Linked DNA regions of Homo sapiens: regions 1, 2, 4 and 5 are each linked to region 3. Evidence: promoter capture Hi-C in 16 types of primary human blood cells and fetal thymus (Javierre and others, 2016). All regions are on one chromosome and are shown on one strand. The core of a region is centred on a gene start or on the middle of the fragment in contact, and the rest is flanking DNA. Distances in the headings are between cores, read along the strand shown. Region 1 overlaps NHLRC2 (NHL repeat containing 2). Region 2 has its middle 25 kb from the start of MIR4483. Region 3 holds the start of ADRB1 (adrenoceptor beta 1). Region 4 has its middle 25 kb from the start of DCLRE1A. Region 5 overlaps NHLRC2 (NHL repeat containing 2).

Region 1 (2,700 bases), core at 44-2,543, 170 kb before region 3:
ATCCTTCCTGCTTCCTCTTTGTAGGTGCTGTTGTCTCTCCCTGGAATCTCCTTCAGCGTTCTCTGCACCTAACACCTCATCATTCACATCTCACTTCAGTCATCACTTCTTCAAGGAAATGTTGGGATATATTTATCAGTAGGAAAATGTGTGATACATGATAACATACTTTATGATAAATATTACATATATATAATGTACATAAAATGTATACAGATTTAACTCATGGATTCTTATTTAAAATTCATTGGGTTATAAATAATTACTGTGATAATTTATTTTGGTATTCCAATGGTCCAAGATTTGACTAATAGGATCCCCTTCAGGCTGTCTTCTGTGATCTTTTGGTATTTCTTTGTCGTTTTTTGAGCCCTTCCTTACTAAATACACCAAAATATTTCCATATGTATCTTGTGTTTTTCCAGCCCAACCCTGAGTCAGCTATTTCTTTAAGGAGCTTTGATCCCTTTTAGTAGGGAATGGTATTGAGAAACCAAGGTCTGGGAACTAGATGTGCTCATTGCTACTATGGTGTTTTTGCTTCTAGTTTCTCAAATAATTCAGAAATTACTTAGGCTATTCCTTCCCACTTCTCAGCTTCCCCCATTAAATTATGTTATTCATCTAAAGTATCGTTAGATTTATTTTTTTCTATTTGTATTTCATTTTAAGTCCCCCCATCTTTGTTGACTTAGTTTTTGAGTGTGTAAGACAACATGGTCTTCAAAGTGAGGATGAAACAGATATTCATTCTATCCACCCATCCCTTCTAACTGTTCTTGCCTTCCCATTTCTGTCCTATATTTTTTAAAATTTCCTTTTTTTTAAAACAAAAGGTGACATACTGTAGACATTTTTATACACTCGCTTTTTTCATGTAAAATTTTATCCCAGGAGTCACTTCATAACAGTTCATAGAGAACTTCTTGACTTTTAAAAATAACTGCATAGTACTCCGCTATATGTGTGCCATAACTCATTCAGCCACTCTCCTATCCTGTGTGTTGGCTCTTAGATCATTCCATATTTAGCAATTATAAGCAATAAATAATCTTGTAGATATGCTTTTGTCTTGCTGGTGGAATCACTTAAGGATAAATTCCTAAAAGTGGCATTGCTGGGTCAAAGTTAAGTACATATGTAGTTTCGTTAGGTATTGCCTAGTTCTTCATCAGGAAAGTTGTACCAGTTTGTATTTCTGCTAGCAGTGTGTGAGTGTACCTCTTTCTCAGATGCTGCTTCAATAAACTGTCTTGACATACTTTTTAATTTTTACCAATCTAATAGATAGGAAGTGGTATCTTGGTGTAATTTTAAGATGTATTTTTGAGTTGGGTTAATCTTATGTTTATATGGCTATTTATTGTATATGAAGTTTTGTCTGCCATTATATCCCCTAACTGGTTATTGTTTGAGTATATAAAGGCTACTGATTTCCATGTGTTAATTATTCTTGCTTCCTGCATCTTTTTTTTTTTTTTTTTTTTTTTTTTGAGACGGAGTTTTGTTCTTATTGCCCAGGCTAGAGTACAGTGGCGTGATCTCGGTTCACCGCAACGTTTGCCTCTCAGGTTCAAGCAATTCTCCTGCCTCAGCCTCCCAAGTAGCTGGGATTACGTGGATGTGCCACCACGCCCGGCTAATTTTGTATTTTTAGTAGAGACAGAGTTTCTCCATGTTGGTCAGGCTGGTCTTGGCCTCCCGACCTCAGGTGATCAGCCAGCCTCGGCCTCCCAAAGTGTTGGGATTACAGGCGTGAGCCACTGCACCTGGCCCTGAATCTTTTATTATTTGACTTAGTTTTATAATTGAGTCTCTGGACTTTTCTTGATATACTGTTATAGCTCCATATAGAAATTTTTCAGTCTTATGCCTCTAATTGATTTCACTTGTCTAATTATGTTGGCTAATCCCCCACGCCCCACCTCAATTTATTGTTAAACAATAGTAGAGATGGTAGGCATTTTTTTCCTTATTCTTTATCGTATTGGAAGTACTTCTGTTTTTATACTACTGGAAATACTTCTATTTTATACTGTACTTCTGTTTTTATACCAGTTTCTGGTTTTATACTTAGTTTATTTAATCAACTAACAAAGTATGAAAGATTAGTGTAAGTAATTATATGTCAATAAACCTAATGATTAAAAAGAATCTATCTGTGCTACTTCTGGGTTTGGAGGAGGATGGTGGCTACCTGATCTTGAATCTCCCCACTGTCCCTCCCCTCTGTTCCAAACAATAAAAAAGGGGAGAACAAGTAAAATCTCACTTGGCCCTGCATTTCACAATACTAGGAGACAGAGAATATCATGGCCTTGACATTAGATGGAAGTTCAGAAATAAACTAAATTCCCATAAAGGTTCTATTGCTGTAAGTCTGTGGATGCCAAGAACAAGTGTAGGGGAGACTTAAAAGACTCCATGAGAACAAGCAGAGTGGTTCAGAGTATTTAGACAACGCACAAACAGAATAGTCTCCTTACCCCCAGAAAGAGAAGCTCCAATACAAAGTATAAAATACTGAACACAGGTTTGGACATACTAGACCATATCACCAGCTCTTACAAGAGTGCAGGACAAGGAATTGAAGCCTCAGAGAAGCATTGCTCCTGGGAGATAATCAGCTATATAAGAAAGATGTGGTTTCCCTTGGAGATAGGCCACTGAAGGGAAAAAAGCGTATATGAAGGAAAAGGT
Region 2 (2,700 bases), core at 74-2,573, 240 kb before region 3:
GACTTGTTTACGAATTGCATTCAGTATTATTTTCCAGTGCTGCAGTCAAAATTGTGAGTCTCAGCCATCAACGGCCTGGGCATTCCATGACACATAGCCTCATACTGATAACACTGTGTGGTGCCTTCACTCCCCAACTGCACTCTAGTTACTGAGGAGCAGGTACCAAGACTCTGTCTCACTCATAGCAGGCACTCGAAGCTTCTCTATAATACATGGCGTGCTGGGATTGGACAGAGTATGGGAGGCCATCCAATCTAACGTTCTCATCTACAGAATGAGGTTTAAGGACCCCAGGAAGTTGAAAGACTTGCCCAAGTTGACTCAGTTAGTAGCAAAATAAGAACTTGAACCTAGGACTCCTAACTTCTAGATCTGTTGTTTGAATCAATAGGGAGCACTGAGAAGCTCGAAGATGATCTGGTGATTTCAAAGGCTGCTGTTGAAAAGGAGTAAAGGATGTGGAGTCCTTCTTCTTCCCCTCCTGGTTCTCTGCAGGCCCCCTATGATGGAAGAACACTAAGCTACACGTCTGAGTAGAACAAACAAAAGCAGAGTAGCAGCATTTGGGAAGAGACAAGGATATGGGGAGAAAGTGGGAGACTTCTTCTAACCCAGCCTGCTTCTAGGAACTTTCTTAGCTGGTCCAAACCTGGTTCTGGAAAGAAAAGAACAAACTGGTTTACCAAAGCTCTGAGTAAGGGCTATCAGGACAGCTGCACAGGTTGGTCTGGGTTTGGCTAAGTGAGATGACTGGGGCAAGGCTTTGTAAGTAATAAAGCAGTAGATGAGCAAGAGGAAGATTAATGTCAGTCATTTATTTTAATCCAAAAAAGGCTTGGCTTTCATTGTACTGTTGGAATTTGGAGTCAGAACAAAACAGTACCAAGAATGTTACAGAATCCAATCAATCTTGGCTTTTAAAATGCAGAATGGCTTCACTGCTATTTTTCTTTTTCTCTTTCTCTGTCTCTCTTTATCTTTCTTTTCTCTTTCTTTCTTTCTTTGAGACAGGGTCCCACTCTGTCATGAAGGCTGGAATGGAGTGGTGTGATCACAGCTCACCGCAGCCTTGATCTTCCCAGCTCAAGAGATCCTCCTGCCTTAGCTTCCCCAGTAGCTGGGACTACAGGCACATGCCACCACGCCCAGCTAATTTTTGTATTTTCTTTTTTTTTTTTTAGAAATGGGATCTTACTATGTTGCCCAGTTGGTCTCAAACTCCTGGGTTCAAGCAATCCTTCCACCTCGGCCTCCCAAAGTGTTAGGATTACAGGCATGAGCCACCACATGTGGCCTACACTGTTATTTCCATCACGAGAGAGACCCAGCTTGCTATCAGTGAAGTTCCCTTGCTACTTCCTCATTCCACGGTACATAGGAAGTATGTATCTCTTATTGGATTCACGTCCACACATGGTTAATCTTTCAAAGGCTGACAAAACACACAAACAGAAGAACAGCTTTGCAAGTAGTTCTTGTTTAATGTAATCATTTGGGGCATTCTGGCACTGGGAAGTTTACAAAGTTAAATATCAATTTCAGTTCTGTTGCTTGATTCATGACAAGAAATCTCTGAGGTAGTAAAGACAGGAAAACAACACTGGGGTTGTAATTCATGTCTCCCTAGCACAAGACCTAGCATGGATATGCTGGCACAACGCCTGGCAAAAAGACAATTAGAGGAACAGCTAACCTGAGTGTGTTACTGAGGGTCTAAACTGAAGGCTGTGCTTATCCCCAATCATGGGGCTCAGGAGCCAGAATTTAATCATGCAAAAAGCCAAATATCAGATATGGATAGAGTGACCACGTAAAGTTAAAATGCAAGTTAGCTCAGGCACATGGATTTAGTGCCTAAAACAAAATAAATCCAGGCCTGAAGAACTGAGAACTCAGCCAAAGACTGGGGAAAGATGGATGATTCTTCTTTGAATAGAAAAACTGCAAATACTAATGACCTCCCAGGCATTTGTGCTAGAATTAGTCTTAAATTTCTATAAGTAATTCAGAATTGAGATCTCCAAGTTTGCACATCACGATACGTTTTCTAGAGAAGCAGAATGTCAAGCTACTAAGAATAAATGGCAAAACAGCTCACTAAGTTCTGAGAGCGGCCAGAATAGAAGTAGAAAATTTCAAGGTAAGCAAGAGAACAAGGAAATCACACTTAAATAATTATGGGATTCAGCAATCCCTGTGAGTTATCCTTATGGAGTTTCCTGTGAGCTCAAAGTACTGGAACTAAAAACAAACGCCAACTAAATGTAAAGCATCCTCAGAAAGGGATATGCAAGCTAAACTCTGTAAATTACAGTGTATCTAGAATCTTTGAAACAATTTCAATTGCCACATTCCAAGGCTCATTGGAGAGGAGTCAGAATGCCTCTGAAGGGTCTGAATGGAATTGGGAGCGCGGGCTGCCATATCAAGATTCCTCAGGATGAAAGCTTGGAGGGGCCTTCAACATGACATTCTGTAAAGTGGGAGCATGACTAGGGAAGGTCAGAGCAAACATTCCAGGGTGCTGATTGCACCTGCTCTGTGCTAAACACCTAGCACACATGAATCTTCTCACTTATAATGTAGTGGCTCCATGGAGTGAAGACTAATTAGTAGCTTATTTTATAGAAGGAACTAAGGTGTAGAGGAGTTAAATAACCTTCTACTAAGGGGTAAGAATTCCAACCAAGGCTGTTT
Region 3 (2,700 bases), core at 183-2,682:
TCACCCCCAGTATAATCCTTTTTGCCAGGTTAACAACTCACTAATTTCAAAGCAATTCATTTGCCAACTCAAAAAAAAAAAAAAAAAAAACCACAGATACAACTTTAAATGCTTTTGGATTTTAATCCTCTGGAGTATTTATATGTTTTCTTGTCTCATCCCTTCAAAACTAATCTCAGAGTTTTGAGAATCTGGGAACTTGGGCAAAGGAGAAAACAAGCACGCAGACCAAGGAATCTGAAATCGCAGTTCATTACGTCAGCATAAACTGACAGTACCTTTTTGTTTGTATTGACCCAGCTCAAATTATAAAATCACATGAGTAATAAAACACAAAATACAGGTGTTATCATTGAAAAGTCTAAAATGTAATTAAACGCGTTTTTTCCCCCTCGCGGTGGTATCGTTTACTCTGTATCTCAACGTTTCTGTCTCCCTAAGCCTCTCCTTTCATATCATGAGCATACATTTTTGCATCATGCTCACACGTTCATTAGCTAGGACTGAGGAGTGTGTACGATTCCAAAGGGCCCTCAGCGTTAGCTGTTAGATGCACAAACCTTCGCTTCCTTTCCACATCTACTGCACTCGAGGTTCAACAGAGGATCCTTGCAAGAACAGCGCCCAGAGAGCATTCTTGACAGATGCGCGCTTGGCTCCAGCAACCCGCTCTGCTGGGAAGTTTCTTCTAACCACTAACACCCACCTCCAATCCCCCAAGCTGTCACGACGCATGCTGGCTGGGTCCCGTCTTGACGGGGGAAGGGTTTTACACACACCCTGCTAGGCTGCCCCACATCACAACCAAGCTCGCAGGGCAAACTCCTCCAAGCCTGGCGGACAAGCTGTCCCAGGCGCTCTGGCGCTTCCTGAACACCAAGGTCCCCTCCCCGCTCAAGGGAGCTAGCGCTCTGTTCCGCAGAGAACCCCGGAACTGCAGGTCGAGGGGATGCGGGGGGAGCGGGGGCGCAGGAGGGAGCCGAGTGCTGGAGGCAAACGGGGCGCAGGAGCGGGTGCGGGAGGCAAACGGGGCGCAGGAGCGGGTGCGGGAGGCAAACGGGGCGCAGGAGTGGGTGCGGGAGCGAGTGGGGGCTGAGGGAGGGGACGGGGCCCCGGGGGGAGCCAGGCGCGGAAGGGGGCGCGGGGGAACAGGGACCAGGAACCAGCGGGCGCAGGAAGGGGTGCGTCCGCAGGAACCCGCGGGCGCACGGGAGGCACTAGCTACGCGATCAGCTCGGGACTCTCAGGAGCCGCTCAATTGCCAACGGGAGGGGGGTGCGGGGAGTTGGAGGTGGGGGTGCAGACCAGACGGGGGCGTGCCTTTGCCCGGATTGGCTGCAGGAGCCTGACGCGAGGCCCCGGGGGTTGGCTTGGGGAGTGGGAGCGGGGTGGGGTGGGTGCTGGGTGCCGGAGCTGCGGGCCCGGCGCGCTCAGAAACATGCTGAAGTCCCGGCGGCTCTTCCAGCAGCGGCAGCGGCTCCAGCAGCAGCGGCGGCGGCGGCGGCGGCGGCAGCGGCAGCGACAGCGCTCGGCTCCTGCGGGAAAGGCGCCCGGCGCCCATGCCTCCGGCCCCGCGCCGCGGCTGCCCTGACCCGGCCGCGACCTCCCTCTGCGCACCACGCCGCCCGGGCTTCTGGGGTGTTCCCCAACCACGGCCCAGCCCTGCCACACCCCCCGCCCCCGGCCTCCGCAGCTCGGCATGGGCGCGGGGGTGCTCGTCCTGGGCGCCTCCGAGCCCGGTAACCTGTCGTCGGCCGCACCGCTCCCCGACGGCGCGGCCACCGCGGCGCGGCTGCTGGTGCCCGCGTCGCCGCCCGCCTCGTTGCTGCCTCCCGCCAGCGAAAGCCCCGAGCCGCTGTCTCAGCAGTGGACAGCGGGCATGGGTCTGCTGATGGCGCTCATCGTGCTGCTCATCGTGGCGGGCAATGTGCTGGTGATCGTGGCCATCGCCAAGACGCCGCGGCTGCAGACGCTCACCAACCTCTTCATCATGTCCCTGGCCAGCGCCGACCTGGTCATGGGGCTGCTGGTGGTGCCGTTCGGGGCCACCATCGTGGTGTGGGGCCGCTGGGAGTACGGCTCCTTCTTCTGCGAGCTGTGGACCTCAGTGGACGTGCTGTGCGTGACGGCCAGCATCGAGACCCTGTGTGTCATTGCCCTGGACCGCTACCTCGCCATCACCTCGCCCTTCCGCTACCAGAGCCTGCTGACGCGCGCGCGGGCGCGGGGCCTCGTGTGCACCGTGTGGGCCATCTCGGCCCTGGTGTCCTTCCTGCCCATCCTCATGCACTGGTGGCGGGCGGAGAGCGACGAGGCGCGCCGCTGCTACAACGACCCCAAGTGCTGCGACTTCGTCACCAACCGGGCCTACGCCATCGCCTCGTCCGTAGTCTCCTTCTACGTGCCCCTGTGCATCATGGCCTTCGTGTACCTGCGGGTGTTCCGCGAGGCCCAGAAGCAGGTGAAGAAGATCGACAGCTGCGAGCGCCGTTTCCTCGGCGGCCCAGCGCGGCCGCCCTCGCCCTCGCCCTCGCCCGTCCCCGCGCCCGCGCCGCCGCCCGGACCCCCGCGCCCCGCCGCCGCCGCCGCCACCGCCCCGCTGGCCAACGGGCGTGCGGGTAAGCGGCGGCCCTCGCGCCTCGTGGCCCTGCGCGAGCAGAAGGCGCTCAAGACGCTGGGCATCATCATGGGCGTCTTCAC
Region 4 (2,700 bases), core at 70-2,569, 210 kb before region 3:
TGAGTGTTTAAATATATTTTTATTTCCAGTGTTCCTTCTGGAATAAAACTATTTTCATCTGAGGAATACACATAAAATAATTTTGGAAGTCAATTCTTAGAATGTACATGGATTTTTGTCACTGTTTATTAAAGATTCATTCAAGTATTCATCACTTATGTGAACTGTCCCTGGGCAGACACTGGAAAAGGTACTGAATCATCAATAAGATACAGGCTCTGACCTTAAGTGTTTACAGTATACTAGGGGAAGGATCTCAAAGGAATCTAGGTTTGATGCTTCAGAAAAACTGGTACTAATTATCTTGATATTGATGAATTTAGAAGTTCTTTAAAAAGTACTCTTTTAAATTCAGATTTAAATGTTTATGTTTCAATGTGTACTAAAAACAAAGGTATAACAATATTTAGAAAGCCATTTTTATTCATGCAAACAGCAAAAGAACATAACTAGATGCTATGAGTCAGGGCTGGGACTAGGGTGAGTAAAGAGAGGTTTTCTAGAGCAAAATTTCATGAGGCCACTCGCTCTCAGGGTCCCGTAAATACAGGGTCAGCCTTAAAAAGGAGTGCCTCTTTAAATTCATCACCCTAGTCACCTCCTCTGCTTTACCTGAGCTCTGGCCCAGCTATGAATGTTTAAGAAATTAGTAATTTTGTGTTATACCTGGTTGCGTATACTTGGTATACTCCACAACAAATGCTTTATAAATTATTTCTGATTTATAGAAAATGGAACTTTGAAATTATGGAGGGAATGCATTATGATGCAAAGGGAATATGTTTACTTTTGGGAGCAAAGAGTAGATACTTAGGGAAAAGGAGAAATGAAACAGAATTAGCACATTAAAATGATTGCCAAGTTAAAAGCTTTCAAGTGTTCAGATTGGAAGTAATTCTCATGACTAAACTGTTCTACTGTTATTTATAACCATTAACTTATGCTTTTGTTAACTTCAAATAACTTGTATTGGCATCTGTAATTGTCCATTCTCACGCTGCTATGAAGAAATACCCAAGAGTGGGTAATTTATAAAGAAAAGAGGTTTAATTGACTCACGGTTCCGCATGGCTAGGGAGGCCTCAGGAAACTTACAATCACGGCTGAACGCACTTCTTTACAGAGCGGCAAGGAAGAAGACGAGTGCCCAGCGAAAGGGGGAAGCCCCATATAAAGGCATAGGATCTCGCGAGAACTAACTCACTATCATGAGAACAGGATGAGGGAAACCAGTCCCAGGATTCAATTATCTCCACCTGGTCCCTCCCAGGACACATGGGGATTATGGAAACTACAATTCAAGATGAGATTTGGGTGGGGACACAACCAACCCTATCGTTTTTCTAAGATCAATACCAAATGAACTAAATGAATAAAAAAACAGTAAGTTACAAGCTAATATCGACACTCTAAGACAGATTGTTTTGGAGATTAGCACCTGAAGATTATTTTCTTAATTCCTTAGTGTAGTTATTGATGGTTATTCAAGACTGAATAAGGAAATTCTGGATGCACTTGAGCCATGGGAATACAACTCATTTAAATTTTAAATTTGAATGAAATTTAAAATTGAAATTAAAATTAAATTTGTTGTCCAAAAGAGAAATTTCATATTTAGGTACATTATTAAATATAGACTAAGTGATAATTTAAATGTAAAAGGCATTGACATTAAGTAAGAAAGGTTTTCCCATTAGATCAAAGTTAAAACAATTTGAAATCAGTCTTTCAAGTGTCACTACACCTGGTAATAAAATGTTCAATGTCAGATAAGCTTGTAAAGAAGCTTTCTGAAGGCCGGGCGCAGTGGCTTACGCCTGTAATCCTAGCATTTTGGGAAGCCGAGGCCAGCAGATTGCCTAAGCTCAGGAGTTTGCGACCAGCCTGGGCAACATGGTGAAACTCCGTCTCTACTAAAATACAAAAAATTAGCCGTGCACCTGTAGTCCCAGCTACTTGGGAGGCTGAGGCAGGAGAATTGCTTGAACCTGGGAGGCAGAGGTTGCAGAGCTGAAATCGCGCCACTGCACTCCAGCCTGGGCCACAGAGCAAGACTCCATCTAAAAAACAAAAATGCTTTCTGAAAAGTTCCAAGTAAATATAAAGCAAAACATTTCCCCCACCTTGGCTTGATTCTACTTCCCCTTCTCTCCACATATTTTAGGATGTTAAGAGCTGCCAGATATTTTGGGTTGGTGGTAGGTTTCTTTTTCTTTCATTTCGCTTAAAAATGGAAAATTTTTACCTACCAAAATGTTGTATCAGAACTAAGAATTTCATATATGCTGTCAATAGAACCTAGAAAAGTTTAGTTGTGGTTGTGACTTATTTATAACACTATTTGGTATGTCCCTTAAATGAGGTACTTAATTTGGTATGTCCAGCAATAGCGGGACATTATTCCAAGCTGCCACAAATGATGATTTTCACGTAGAAAGATGTTTTTGCATAGAATAATAAAAAGGCTGAGGCTGAGGCTGCTCTTGAAATAACATGCTTGGATTTTCAAAAACGTTCAAAATCATAAAAAATCTTTTTACCTATGAAAAATGACAATTCTAGTGGGAAAAATCATTCAATTAATAAATAAAAATAACCCCAGACGACTTGACTATCTCCCTTATGTTAAGAATATCTATAATTACAGAAATATAAAGTTTTTCTAATTATAACTCTTAATAGCTTACAAAAAGTTTAAAA
Region 5 (2,700 bases), core at 124-2,623, 150 kb before region 3:
ACTATTTCTACAAAAGAAATTTTAAAATAAAAAGTAAATTTAAAAAAATTGTAAGAAAATCTCAGAAAAAGAACGTAGGAAGGTGGTTGCTAGAGGCTAGGAATAAGGGAAGGTATGGGGAAAGGGAAGAGGTTGATCAAAGGGTACAAAGTTTCAATTGGAGGAATAAGTTTTAGAGATAATTGTGCACTGCATGGTGACTGACTTGTAGTTATTAATGTGTATTTCACAGCTGCTAAAAGAATAAATATTTAACATTTGCACCACACAGAAAAAAATGTTGGTATATTCATAGATATATTATTTAGCTTGATTGAATCTTTCTACAGTATACACATAGATCAAAACATGACATTGTACCCCACGAATGTACACAATTATTATTGGTCAATTAAAAATTTGAAAAAGATGTAGGAAAGGGACTAGAAATATCTCATTATTTTAAATCTACATGTAGTATGTAAATGCATGTGTTTATGTATTTTAAATGGTATCTGAATATTTAACCTGACTATGCCGTATAGTTATAAAAATAATTAATATAAAGTGACTTTTACAAAATTACATTTTATCTGTGTTCATTTTTTAATTGTCATTCTTAATGTGGTCAGAACATCATGCACCAAAAATAATTACTACAGTAAGTTCATTTTTTCAGCAGATACATTGTAATGTTTCTAAAATGTGTATCAGGTCTGTGTTGACTCCATTTGTACCAGACAACAACCTGAAAGACGTTTAGCATAAAGGTTGAAACTCCTATCAGTATCTTTTTTTTTTTTTTTTTTTGAGACTGAGGCTCGCCATATCACCTAGGCTGGAGTGCAGTGACGTGATCTCGGCTCACTGCAACCTCTGCCTGTCGGGTTCAAGCAATTCTCCTGCCTCAGCCTCCCAAGTAGCTGAGATTACAGGTGTGCACCACCATGCCTGGCTAATTTTTGTATTTTTAGTAGAGATGGGGTTTCACCATGTTGGCCAGGCTGTTCTCTAACTCCTGACCTCTAGTGATTTGCCCGCCTTGGCCTCCCAAAGTGCTGGGATTACAGGTATGAGCCACTGCGCCCAGCCAAAACCCCTATCAGTATCTAAGTACTTTAAGACTTTACCTGATTTTGAGTCATTTATAGAAAGGATAACGTGCCAGAATCCCATTAACCTTTCTTGGCCCTTTAATCAACATTTTCCCTAGATAGAAGTTTAGCCATTCTTCTACAACCTTTAATGGTTGAAATCCAACTATTTAGTATGCTAGTCTGATAATCTACAGTGTTCGTATTTATGTGCTTCAATAAATGCTTCTCTGACTCGCATTATTAATATGATATAAAATACCATGAAAATATTTTTGCTTTAAAAAAATCAGATGACACGGAGTTTTGAAGGAATAAATTTGATGCAGTATGACTAGTACATTTTTATTTTGTTAAAATAAGTTATATCTTTATGTCTAAAATTTGAGAGAAGATTCTTATACTGCCTTATCACATTGACTTGGTGTTGATTTTTTTTAGGTTAATTAGGTATAATTTATATACAGTAAAATTTACCCTTATTAGGTATATAATTCTATGAAATTTGACAAAGAAGTGCAGTCTTGTAACTTTTACCACAGTCAAGATACAGAATATTTTCATCCCAAAAAGTTATTTCATAGCCTGTTGTTGAGTCTCCCCCCGCCATCACCACACTCACTGCAGCAACTGGCAGCAGTGATCTCTTTCCTGTTCTCTGTCATCTTTCATGTCTGGCTTCTTCCATTTAGCATAATGTTTTTGAGATTCATCCCTGTGGTTCCATGTATCAGTAATTTGTTCTCTTTTATCACTGAGTAGTAGTTCGTTGTATGGCTCTACCACAGTTTGTTTATTCATTCACCAGTTAATAGACATTTGAAGGTATTTCTAGTTTTCAGTGGCTATAGAAAACCTCCATAAACGTTTGTGCACAGTTTTTGTTTTGTGGTAATATGCATTCACTTCTCTTGGGCAAATGCCTAAGAATGAGATTACTGGGTCATATGGTAAGTGAATGTGTACAAGAAACTGCCAGACTGTTTTCCACAGTGGCTGTTTTCTTAAAGTCCCAAATGTCTGTTGGGAGTCATTGCTTCTGCCTGAAGAACTTCTTATGACACAGGTCTGCTGGCAGTGATTTTTCTTGCCTTTATTCTGGTCTGAAAAAGTATCTAGCTTTCATTTTTGAAAGTTATTTTTATTGCGTATGTGAATCTGGATTAACATTTTTTTCTTTTACTATTTTAAAGATATTACTCCATTGTCTTTTGACTTACATAGTTTTCCACAAGACACCTGTTTTAATATTATCTCTTGTTCTTTATATGTAAAGTGTATTTTTTTCTCTGGTTGCTTTCAAGATTTTATCTTTGGTTTTCAGCAGTTTGATATATCTAAGAATTATCCTGCTTGGAGTTCTTGAATCTGTGGTTTGATGTTCATTATTGTCAAGAAATTCTCACTCATTATCTCTTCAGATATTTTTTTCTGCCCCTTTCTGTCTTTCTCTTTCTGGGACTTCAGTTACTCATGTTAGATTTCTTCTTAATATTATATTCAATAACTCTTGCATATTGTGTTCTTTTTATTCATTCTTCTTATTTTTTCTTTTTGTACTAGTAATTTCTACCAATTTATCTTCAGTCATTAATTCTTTCTTCAGCTGTGTCTAGTCAACTGATGA

Evidence for each region. Contacts are between HindIII fragments. The CHiCAGO score rates a contact against its expected background, and 5 or more counts as called.
Region 1: a contact is called between a fragment that was not itself captured here and the fragment with the promoter of ADRB1 in region 3, in 2 of 17 cell types (megakaryocytes and M0 macrophages). The highest score is 5.7, in megakaryocytes.
Region 2: a contact is called between a fragment that was not itself captured here and the fragment with the promoter of ADRB1 in region 3, in 14 of 17 cell types (megakaryocytes, endothelial precursors, total B cells and 11 more). The highest score is 9.4, in megakaryocytes.
Region 4: a fragment that was not itself captured here is called in contact with the fragment with the promoter of ADRB1 in region 3 in 5 of 17 cell types (total CD8 T cells, naive B cells, endothelial precursors and 2 more); the score reaches 5.9 in total CD8 T cells.
Region 5: a contact is called between a fragment that was not itself captured here and the fragment with the promoter of ADRB1 in region 3, in 1 of 17 cell types (neutrophils). The highest score is 5.2, in neutrophils.

Annotation. Positions count from the first base shown.
Region 1 is chr10:113,869,549-113,872,248 of GRCh38, forward strand. All of the region lies in intron 2 of NHLRC2 (NHL repeat containing 2), which reads left to right. Among named protein-coding and RNA genes, the nearest start is that of NHLRC2, 16 kb to the left of the region's middle. The HindIII fragment of the contact is 5,851 bases long and covers 1-2,700 here.
Region 2 is chr10:113,801,840-113,804,539 of GRCh38, forward strand. No RefSeq gene overlaps it. Among named protein-coding and RNA genes, the nearest start is that of MIR4483, 25 kb to the left of the region's middle. The HindIII fragment of the contact is 2,249 bases long and covers 200-2,448 here.
Region 3 is chr10:114,042,434-114,045,133 of GRCh38, forward strand. ADRB1 (adrenoceptor beta 1) reads left to right here and starts at 1,433. Exons shown (of 1, transcript NM_000684.3): 1 at 1,433-2,700. The coding sequence starts at 1,700. RefSeq lists an enhancer at 801-850 and silencers at 1,121-1,400, 1,471-1,530. The HindIII fragment of the contact is 8,909 bases long and covers 1-2,700 here.
Region 4 is chr10:113,827,640-113,830,339 of GRCh38, forward strand. No RefSeq gene overlaps it. Among named protein-coding and RNA genes, the nearest start is that of DCLRE1A, 25 kb to the right of the region's middle. The HindIII fragment of the contact is 905 bases long and covers 868-1,772 here.
Region 5 is chr10:113,888,056-113,890,755 of GRCh38, forward strand. All of the region lies in intron 5 of NHLRC2 (NHL repeat containing 2), which reads left to right. Among named protein-coding and RNA genes, the nearest start is that of NHLRC2, 35 kb to the left of the region's middle. The HindIII fragment of the contact is 8,562 bases long and covers 1-2,700 here.